2 separate regions of the Homo sapiens genome follow, and region 1 is linked to region 2. The links are contacts of gene promoters, found by promoter capture Hi-C in blood cells and fetal thymus (Javierre and others, 2016). All regions are on one chromosome and are shown on one strand. The core of a region is centred on a gene start or on the middle of the fragment in contact, and the rest is flanking DNA. Distances in the headings are between cores, read along the strand shown.

Region 1 (4,613 bases), core at 75-2,574, 400 kb after region 2:
CAAAGGCTAAAAAGGAAAAAAATTTAAATGTGAACCATGAGAGATTTTTTCCATCCCTTATATTTTTCTTTTTTTTTTTGAGACGGAGTCTCGCTTTGTTGCCCAGGCTGGAGTGCAGTGGCGTGATCTCGGCTCACTGCAACCTCCGCCTCCAGGGTTCAAACCATTCTCCTGCCTCAGTCTCCCGAGTAGCTGGGATTACAGGCGCCCGCCACCACGCCCGGCTAATTTTTGTATTTTTAGCAGAGATGGGGTTTCACCATGTTGGCCAGACTGGTCTGGAACTCCTGACCTCAGGTGATCCGCCCGCCTCGGCCTCCCAAAGTGTTGGGATCACAGGCATGAGCCACCCACCGCTCCTGGCCAATCCCCTATATTTCTATTTGAACCTTAAAAAAAAAAAAAGACCCTTCTTTAGCCGAGCGGCGGTGAGTCCTATTCTCATGATATGTCCGGGGGCTTGAAGACTGCGGGAGGGAAAGCCTCTGGGACCTCACCTCAGAGCGATTCTGCTCTGCTTCAAAGCGTCCCCTCTTAGGCCGGGCGCGGCGGCTGACGCCAGTAACCCCAACACTTTCGGAGGCCGAGGAGCGAGGACTCCTTGAGCCCAAGAGTTCGAGACCAGCCTGGGCAATATAGTGAGACCCCCCCCCCCCACCACCGTCTCTACAAAAAAAATTTTTTTAATTAGCCAGGCGTGGTGGCCGCGCCTGTGGTCCCAGCTGCTCCGGAGGCTTAAAGTGGGATGATTACTTAAGCCAGAGTTCGAGGCTGCAGTCAGCCGTGTTCGCGCCACTATACTTCAGCCTGGGCGACAGAGACCTTTTCTAAATAATAAATAAGTAAATAAGTAACGTGCCGCCTCTTCACTCCCAATTCCCTCCGCCTTTCCCCGCCCCGCCTCGTCGAAGCCGGACCCGCGGCGGCCCGCCCCTCCCCCACGACCAGGGCCGGGAACTGCGGGTGCGCGGGGCGGGAGTCGGGCGGGCTTAGGCGCGGCCGACACGTGGGGAGGGAGGCCGCGGCCCAGGAGGCGGGCCCGGAGTGGGTGTGGGTGTGTCCGTGCGTGGGAGAAACCAACCTCAGCCTCCTCCGAGGCGCCACGTTTCAGCACGGCTCGTTGGGCCCGGGAGGTCGGAAATCAGTCCCCACGCCCCGGACCCCCTCCTGGAGGGACAACGAACACAGGCGCGGGACGGCTTCGGTCACCGCCCGCGCCGCCCTTTGCCCCCGTGCCTGCTCGCGCGTCACCCCCGCCCCGGTGCGGTGGTAGGGCCCGGCGCGACGTCACCCATTGTTTACAAATCAACCCGAGCCGGCAGGATTCCGGCTCCAGCGGCTGCAGGCGCGTGGCTCGAGTGCCTGGCGGGCTCCGGCTTCCGCGTCCGCCCCTGCTCCGGCTTCGCCCGCAGCTCCGCGCCCGCGGGCAACCAAGCCCCCAGCGAAGCCCGCACAGCTCCGGGTGCCAGGACGGGGGGCCATGCCGTGCCGGAGGGAGGAGGAAGAGGAAGCCGGCGAGGAGGCGGAGGGGGAGGAAGAGGAGGACGACAGCTTCCTCCTGCTGCAGCAGTCGGTGACGCTGGGCAGCTCGGGCGAGGTGGACCGGCTGGTGGCCCAGATCGGCGAGACGCTGCAGCTGGACGCGGCGCAGGACAGCCCGGCCTCGCCGTGCGCGCCCCCGGGGGTGCCGCTGCGGGCCCCGGGGCCCCTGGCTGCGGCGGTGCCGGCGGACAAGGCCCGGCCCCCGGCGGTGCCGCTGCTGCTGCCGCCCGCTTCGGCTGAGACGGTGGGCCCGGCGCCCTCTGGGGCCCTGCGCTGCGCCCTAGGGGACCGCGGCCGCGTGCGCGGACGCGCTGCGCCCTACTGCGTGGCGGAGGTCGCCGCAGGCCCCAGCGCGCTGCCGGGGCCGTGCCGGCGAGGATGGCTCAGGGACGCGGTCACCTCCCGCCGCTTGCAGCAGCGCCGATGGACCCAAGCCGGGGCACGCGCCGGCGACGACGACCCGCATCGGCTCCTCCAGCAGCTCGTGCTCTCGGGAAACCTCATCAAGGAAGCCGTGCGGAGACTCCAACGAGCCGTCGCCGCGGTTGCAGCCACGGGCCCCGCAAGCGCCCCTGGGCCCGGGGGAGGCCGCAGCGGACCTGACCGCATTGCCCTGCAGCCCTCAGGCTCCTTGCTCTGACGCAGGCCTCCTGGAGGAGGAAGTGGAGGCCGCTGCGTAGACCCAACAGCGTCCAGTTCCTACTAACTCTGAGCTGAAGCCGACGTCGCCAGCCTGGGAGCGACCACTTTGGCTGCGGGGAGGCGCGTGGGGAGAGATCTCAACCAGAGAAGTTACCAGCCGCGGCGAGGCCGTCGGAGAAAACTTAAGCGTGGAGAAATGTATGCGCCAGGGTGCTTCCGTGGGGCATGAGAATTTCCCGGGCCATCCAAGCCCAAGGACCTGGGATAAACTGGGAGAACTATGGCAGCTACTTGCATCGACTTGTACCTCACTTAGCCCTTGGGGGCGTCGTGAGCTTGGATTGTTTAAGGAGGGCTCAGGGGTAGGAATCGCGATGGCTTTATAACAATACTTGAAAACTAACGACACGCATACATTTTCTTATTTTCTGGTGGAGGAGCTTAGTAAGTGGTGCTACAATTGCTGTGCAAAGAAATTCCAGAGGGGAGAAGAATGTAAAAGTTTGGTGGTGGGTGGCTTGGCATTGCCCCTTTTTCCCACCGATTCGGTGGCTGGTGAAGGTGGGAGATGTGAACTCCAATTAAGGGACTGGAGAGAGGTGAAGAATTTTGCAGGTGGGAGATTTGGATTTGAATGTGGACTTGTAAATGACTTGACCTTGCCATCTGTGTTCAAGGTCACGGTTTGCTGTGGGGTTCCTGGGAGAGCTTACTCACCCCGGAGTCTTTTCTTTCTCTTGCTCCAAGAAGAGCCCTGTTGGTGCTTTACCACCGCTTGGAGTCTCCCGAGGACACAAACAGGCAGAGAGGGACGTGTAGGGAGAGTTCTTTCCTGTTTTCTGTGCTTTCCTTTTTACAGGACTCCCGGAAGGCCACTCATGGCCATGCCAGGAGCTTTCTCAGAAACAGTCATAAACGATCTCTTGAGTCTCTTTCTTGTCCTCCCAGCTGAGCTTTCTTATTCCACCCTTTCTGGTGTCTATAGGAATGCATGAGAGACCCTGGACGTTTTTCTGCTCTCTTCTGGCCCTCCATGGAGTCATGGGCCTCGGCCTCGGCGGCTCCTCACCCTCACAATTTATTTCCTCCTCCCGTGCCAGCCCTTCTTTTGTGTCTGAAACCGGTTTTAAAATGTGACTCTCCCAGAGAAGAAGCCGCTGGCTGTATGAAACTTGACGGCGCTTTTGTAAGGTGCCACCCCCAAACTTTAAGGTAGCTAAACCAATTTTTAAAAGATTCAATGGCTTGTTCATCCTCCAGATGTAGCTATTGATGTACACTTCGCAACGGAGTGTCTGAAATTGTGGTGGTCCTGATTTATAGGATTTCATAATTAAAATGTCTGCTGAATAAATTTGGCTTTTGTTTTGGAGCACGGTTTGGCATTTTGGTGGAAGGTGGGAGAGGGGCAGAAAAGCATATGGGGATGTCCTTAATAAAGAGGGCACTTGGGCTAAACCGGGGGGGGGGGACCTGGACAAATGGTTTGGGCCAATGCTGATGGGCACAGAATCCTAGTAGAGCCACAGGACTTGAGTGCTTCTAAGTTTTTATTCCACAAGATCAGAAAATTGAGTCCAGGTTTTTAGAAGCTGCAAGATGGGCTTCCACTCCCTTTGTGGAAAGACAATGTATTCTAGAAATGCTTTCTGGGCTGGAGAGCAAAGAGGTGCTGTGGTGGAGGGAGGTGGGTTTTCATCTGGACGTTTTTGTGCAAAATGGGGAGGGCACAGGCGAAGCCAGCCTGCTTTCCCCTTTGAGACTGACCTAGTCTTGAGCTATGGCCTTGGGAGAGAAAAACAGGGTTTTACAGCAGTGTATTTGGTAGTTGTAAAATGGCTTGGTTTGAGCACTCAGGGGTTAGATTTGACCGAAGTAGCCCTCCTCCTCTCCTCATTCTCTCTCTGCCCTGTCTTCCCAGGCATAGAGCCCTTGCTGAATCCCTTCCTAGTTCCTGCCTTGCCCTTTTCTCTTTTTAATTTAATTTTATTATTTTGAGATGGTGTCTTACTCTGTAACCCAGGTTGGAGTGCAGTGGCACGATCTTGGCTCACTGCAGCCTCAACCTCCTGGGCTCAAACAGTCCTCTCACCTCAACCTCCTGAGTAGCTGGGACTACAGGCTCATACCACCATGCCAGGCTAATTTTTTATATTTTTAGTAGAGATGGGTTCTCACTGTGTTGCCCAGGCTGGTCTTGAACTCGAGCTCAAGTGATCTGCCCTCCTCGGCCTCCCAAGGTGCTGGGATTAAAGGCGTGAGCCACCACACCTGGCCCCTGCCTTGCCCCTTCCTTGCCCAGCTCTACTAACCCAGCCCCCGGGGAACCTCTCCTGCTCAGCACACTCCCGAGGCTGGGGCTGCAGAGGAAGGCTGATGCTCAGTTGCCTCAGCCCTTTCTGCTCACCAGCTGTGTCATGGTGGGCAAG
Region 2 (4,835 bases), core at 24-2,523:
TGCCAACAGTAAACCTGTGAGCAAGGGAAAGTGAACTATTCAGACCTAAAATCCTGTTCTTTGTACTCTCCATCCAATGCTCTTTTCCCCAAAGATCCATCAAAACTAAAAATCATAAAAACCAAGCATAAATGATCGCTGCAGCGAGGCAGCCCATGGGCTGAAATGAAATGATGTCCTGGAACATTTTTCTCCCACTCTTTACCTGGTTAATTCCTACTCATCCTTCAGGTATCAGCTTAAACATCACTCCCTTACTCTGGGAAGTCTCTGCCAACACCCCCAACTCTGGACTGGGAGACCCTCTCCGATGCTCCCAAAGGATCACGTACTCACCCTAACAGAGCACTTATCACATCACATCGCTTCTTGGCCTTGTGGCTAAGATCAAGTGCAGAGCACTGACCACGTCAAAGTAAAACTCCCTGCTCTTAACTGGCCTCCATTCACGACTGCTTCTGTACACAGTGGGTGCTTAACAAATGCCTGCTGAATGAGTGAATGAAATACCGTGCTCCAGGACTCTCGCCCGATCCTCTAACTCTTCCCACTCCCTTCGGTTCCCAACAACTTCCTGGGCCATCTCTGCCCCAGGGCAGTCGGCATCAGAACGCCCCATTCCCGTCTGCCCTTTCTGATGAGGAAACCGAGGAGCCTTTACGGTCTTTCCCAGTTCAAAGTCCTATCCTGAACTCTAAGCAGCAAACGAGGGGGCGGAACCTCGGCGAAGAGCAACATAAACCAGTCCCAGGCAATCAGCCGCGACCTGATGGGAGGGTGAGGGGATGGGACAAAGGGGCCAACGGGACCCCGAAATCCCCGCAGGCCGAGCCAAGGCGAAAGGGCACAGAGCGGCGCCAGGTATGAGCCCAGGAAGGGGCGAGGTATATCGACGCCCGCACTGGCCTTGGCCAACACCTCTGCAGCCAGGGGGGCCTGATGGAGCCCGTGAGGCTGGACAGGGAAGGCCATGCCCGAGGTCGTGGGGCCAGCATGTGGCGGCCCCCGCTGCGCCCAAGCACCCAACTACACACAGCCTGCGGAGACACTGGGACGCGGGGGGACGGCACCTCACCTACCCGGCCGCTGGCTCCGTGAGGGAGGCGGCAGGGTCGGGCAGGAGCAGGGGTAGAGCCACTGGGCCCCGGAGCGTTTCTTCAGGCCTCCCCCGGCTGAACGCCGCTCCTCCTGCCAGGGTTGTTCGGAAGTCGCAGGTCCGAAAATCTCCTCCGCCTACGCCGCGGCCGCCACCGCCGCTTCCGGGACGCGAATCGCTCTGCGGCTGCGTCCTCATGACGTCATCCCGCTCCGGGTTTAGCTCCGCCCACCCCAGCACAGGCAAGCACCCTTGCCAGCAGTGCGCCTGCGCGTCTTTCCCGCGCGCTCCAGGCTGGAGTTAATTCTGTCCTTGGCCGGCCGCCGTTCACAAAGCCTTGAGGACCCTTGGAAGCACGTGCTTGGCGACCCTGCAGCTCGTTGCCCTGCCTTGCCGCAGGGAACAGTTGGCGAGAGGCTTAAATGAAGAATTTACGTCTTCATCCTCTTTCCTTCCAACTTTGGAACTGAACTGGGGACTGTGTGTGAGCCCCGGAAAGACACCGTATCCTGTATGAGATGCCCAGCAGAGCATGCAGTTGTTTCCGGAGTAGCTAGTGTGTACAAGGTCCTGTGCAGGCCTCTCCCAGCTCAGTTCACTTCACACCGTGTGGCCCAGTTAATTTCCCTTAAAGCACACATCCGATGGCTTTATATTAGTGACTTAGCGCTCAGGTACAGAGGAGCCAAGCACTGAACCGGACTGAGCTCTTTTTAGACATTATCTAGTTCTCCTCCAACGACCCTATTAGGGTTGTCGCCATTTTACAGATGGGGAATCTCAGACGTGTTAAGGAACTTCTTTAGAGTCACAGCTAAGAAGCAAATGGGAGCTGGAATTTGAAGCTTATGTGTCATCTGACCCCAACGCCCCAACCATACCACCACCCACCTTGGTCTGCATTTCCTGGTCTTGTCTCCTGCCATCTTTCAGCTGCCTTTAACTTTGGCCAACTGAACCCCTCCACTGTTACCCTCAAATGCCCCTGGCACTCAAATGTCTGTATCCCTTCCTTGAGTGCCCCAGCTGGAAGTAATCACTTCCCTCTTCAAGTAGCCACAGAGCTTTAACTGCATCTCTTCCTCCATTATCTCCTTTCAGAAAGACAGGCCCATCCCTCCAGCCAGGACTTAGCTGTGCTCCAGGGTCCAACTCTTATTTCCTTAGGGCTTTGCTCTAACAGGCCTGAAATCTTGACTCTCGCTAACTCTTAATCATCATTCTAGAGACAAAATTCATGGAAAATTTCTCCTTTAGCCTAACTTTACCCCCTCTTTCCTACATGAGTTGGAAGACTCACTGTGAAGTGCTCTCTACCGCTGCTTCCTCGCCCAATTCACTCCTCACTGCACTGTGGTCCTGCTCCCCTCCATATTTCTGGGCTACCTGCCTGCTCACCTGTGACATCCTGGCTGCTAAATCCAATGGACACTTCCCAGTCCTCCTTGCAGATGACCTCAGAAGCACTGGAATCTCTTTCCTTTTTGGCACCATTGTCCACCTTAGCTTCCATGACACCACCCTCTCCTCTCTTTCCGACCTTCAAGGTCTCCTTAGGGCTTTTCTTCCTACCCCTCAAATGCTGGGGCTCCTTTTGCTACCCTTCTTTCTTCTGACTCAAGGCACTCCGTGAGGATCTCATTCACTCTTGTGGCTTCTGTCAGCTAATGTTTCGTTTCCCGTGTCTATGTCTCCAGCACCTAAAGCAGTACCTGGCACATAGTAGGCATTCTGTTAAGAAGGGTTGCAAGATGTTACCATTGGGGGGTAGTCTGTGGGATCACCCTGTGTTAGTTCTTATAACTATGTATAAATTGACGATTGTCCCAAAAGTAAATGCTTACCCTGTGTAGGTATTTTTCTCAAAGCTCCCTGCTTTAGTTGACTTTGTCAATTACCCGGCATGCGCCAGTCCCAACATAAGTAAGGTAGGAGGGCTTCTCCTCAGATGAATTGCTTGGTTGGTTTTTCCAGCTGTAAAATGGGGATAACCATAGTGGTACCCTCAGTGTGGGGCTGTGATGAGAATTAAATGAGCTAAAGTATGTAAATTCCTGACATGTTATAAGTGTTCAAAAATCGTTAGCAATCATTGTGATTTTTATTTTTACTCAAAGCCCTACCACCACCACCCCTAGCCCAAAAATCAGACAAGAATCCACGAAAGGCCAAAATGTAGAAAGATCCAATTCCCACACATATCACTAAGCCATATACAGAAATCCACTCACCACCCCTTAGAGAAATGGACTGAGCTTTGTGGTGGTCCAGGCCCATCTGCTGGACTCTGCCTCTCCTCCCTTAGGATGGGTCTTTTCCCCGAAAGCTCCTGGGTCTGTCATGCAGATAGCCTCTGAAGGCCCCTCTTCTTCGTTTCCTAACCTGGCCTCAGGTCTGAATTCCAGGATAGGCCATCGCCACTCCCCACCCACTCCCATCCCCCACCCTGTCCACCCCTCTGTACCTTTCTCAGACCACTCTCTTGGTGGATAGTTTCAGTGGCCCCCTGTGACCTCCAGGATAAAACCAAAGCCTGGTGTATTCAACTCTGGCAGTTCTCGGATATGTCACACCTTCTCCCATTACTGTACCTTTCTACAGACTACTCTCACCTTTTTTTTTTTTTTTTTTTTGAGATAGAGTTTTGCTCTTGTTGCGCAGGCTGGAGTGCAATGGAGAAATCTTGGCTCACTGCAACTTTTGCCTCCCAGGTTCAAGCGATTCTTCCGCCTCAGCCTCCTAAGTAGCTGGAATTACAGGCATGCACCACCATGCCTGGCTAATTTTTTGTATTTAGTAGAGATGGGGTTTCACCATGTTGGCTAGACTGGTCTCAAACTCCTTACCTCAGGTGATCCACCTGCCTCGACCTCCCAAAGCGCTGGGATTACAGACGTGAGCCACTGCGCCCCATATTCTTTAGTTGGCCAGCTCTTATTCTTCCTCCAAAATTCAGCTCAGATCTCACCCCTGAAGAAAGACTTCTCTGACACCTTCCCCATCAGCAGCCACTGTCTGGATTACGTGCCCTTCTGACTTGGCTCCGTGGGCCTGCCCCACCCCAGCACTTGGTGCCTCCTCCTCTCTCTAGACAGTGAGAGTCCTGAGGGAACTGCCTATAATTTCTGTGTCCAGCATCTAGCACAAAGGAGGTACCAACAAATGTTCCTTGAATGAGCGCATGCGTGTCAGTTTCCTCTTGGAGCACAGAATTCACATCTCTTTCAACAAAAGCCCCAGAACAATGCCCATTTCTTTTTTCTTTTTCTTATCTTTCTTTCCTTTTTTAATGTAATTTTATTTTATTTTTGAGATAGGGTCTTCTGCTGCTGCCCAGGCTGCAGTGCAATGGTGCAATCATAGCTCACTCTAATTCCTGGGCTCAAACAATCCTCCTGCCTCAGCCTCCAGAGGAGCTGGGACTACAGGTGCACACCACTAACACCTAGCTACTTAATTTTTATTTTTATTTTTTTTTGAAACGGAGTCTCACTCTGTCATCAGGCTGGAGTGCAGTGGCACGATCTTGGCTCACTGCAAGCTCCGCCTCCCGGATTCAAGCGATTCTCCTGCCTCAGCCTCCCGAGTAGCTGGGACTACAGGTGCACACCACCACGCCCAGCTAATTTTTGTATTTTTAGTAGAGACGGGGTTTCACCATGTTGGCCAGGATGGTCTCGATCTCTTGAGCTCGTGATCTGCCTGCCTCAGCCTCCCAAAGTGCTGGGATTACAGGTGT

Evidence for each region. Contacts are between HindIII fragments. The CHiCAGO score rates a contact against its expected background, and 5 or more counts as called.
Region 1: the fragment with the promoter of FRAT2 here is called in contact with the fragment with the promoter of ZFYVE27 in region 2 in 3 of 17 cell types (neutrophils, activated CD4 T cells and non-activated CD4 T cells); the score reaches 8.8 in neutrophils.

Annotation. Positions count from the first base shown.
Region 1 is chr10:97,331,440-97,336,052 of GRCh38, reverse strand. It overlaps FRAT2 (FRAT regulator of Wnt signaling pathway 2), which reads left to right and starts at 1,324. Exons shown (of 1, transcript NM_012083.3): 1 at 1,324-3,556. The coding sequence starts at 1,481. The coding sequence ends at 2,182. It overlaps LOC105378448 (a long non-coding RNA gene), which reads right to left and starts at 1,207. Exons shown (of 2, transcript NR_188201.1): 1 at 1,082-1,207. RefSeq lists silencers at 756-1,105, 1,236-1,385, 1,476-1,625, 1,966-2,095, 2,106-2,155 and an enhancer at 1,706-2,613. The HindIII fragment of the contact is 20,442 bases long and covers 1-4,613 here.
Region 2 is chr10:97,733,566-97,738,400 of GRCh38, reverse strand. It overlaps ZFYVE27 (zinc finger FYVE-type containing 27), which reads right to left and starts at 1,273. Exons shown (of 13, transcript NM_001385875.1): 1 at 1,080-1,273. RefSeq lists a silencer at 1,008-1,077 and an enhancer at 1,408-1,557. The HindIII fragment of the contact is 3,622 bases long and covers 1-1,943 here.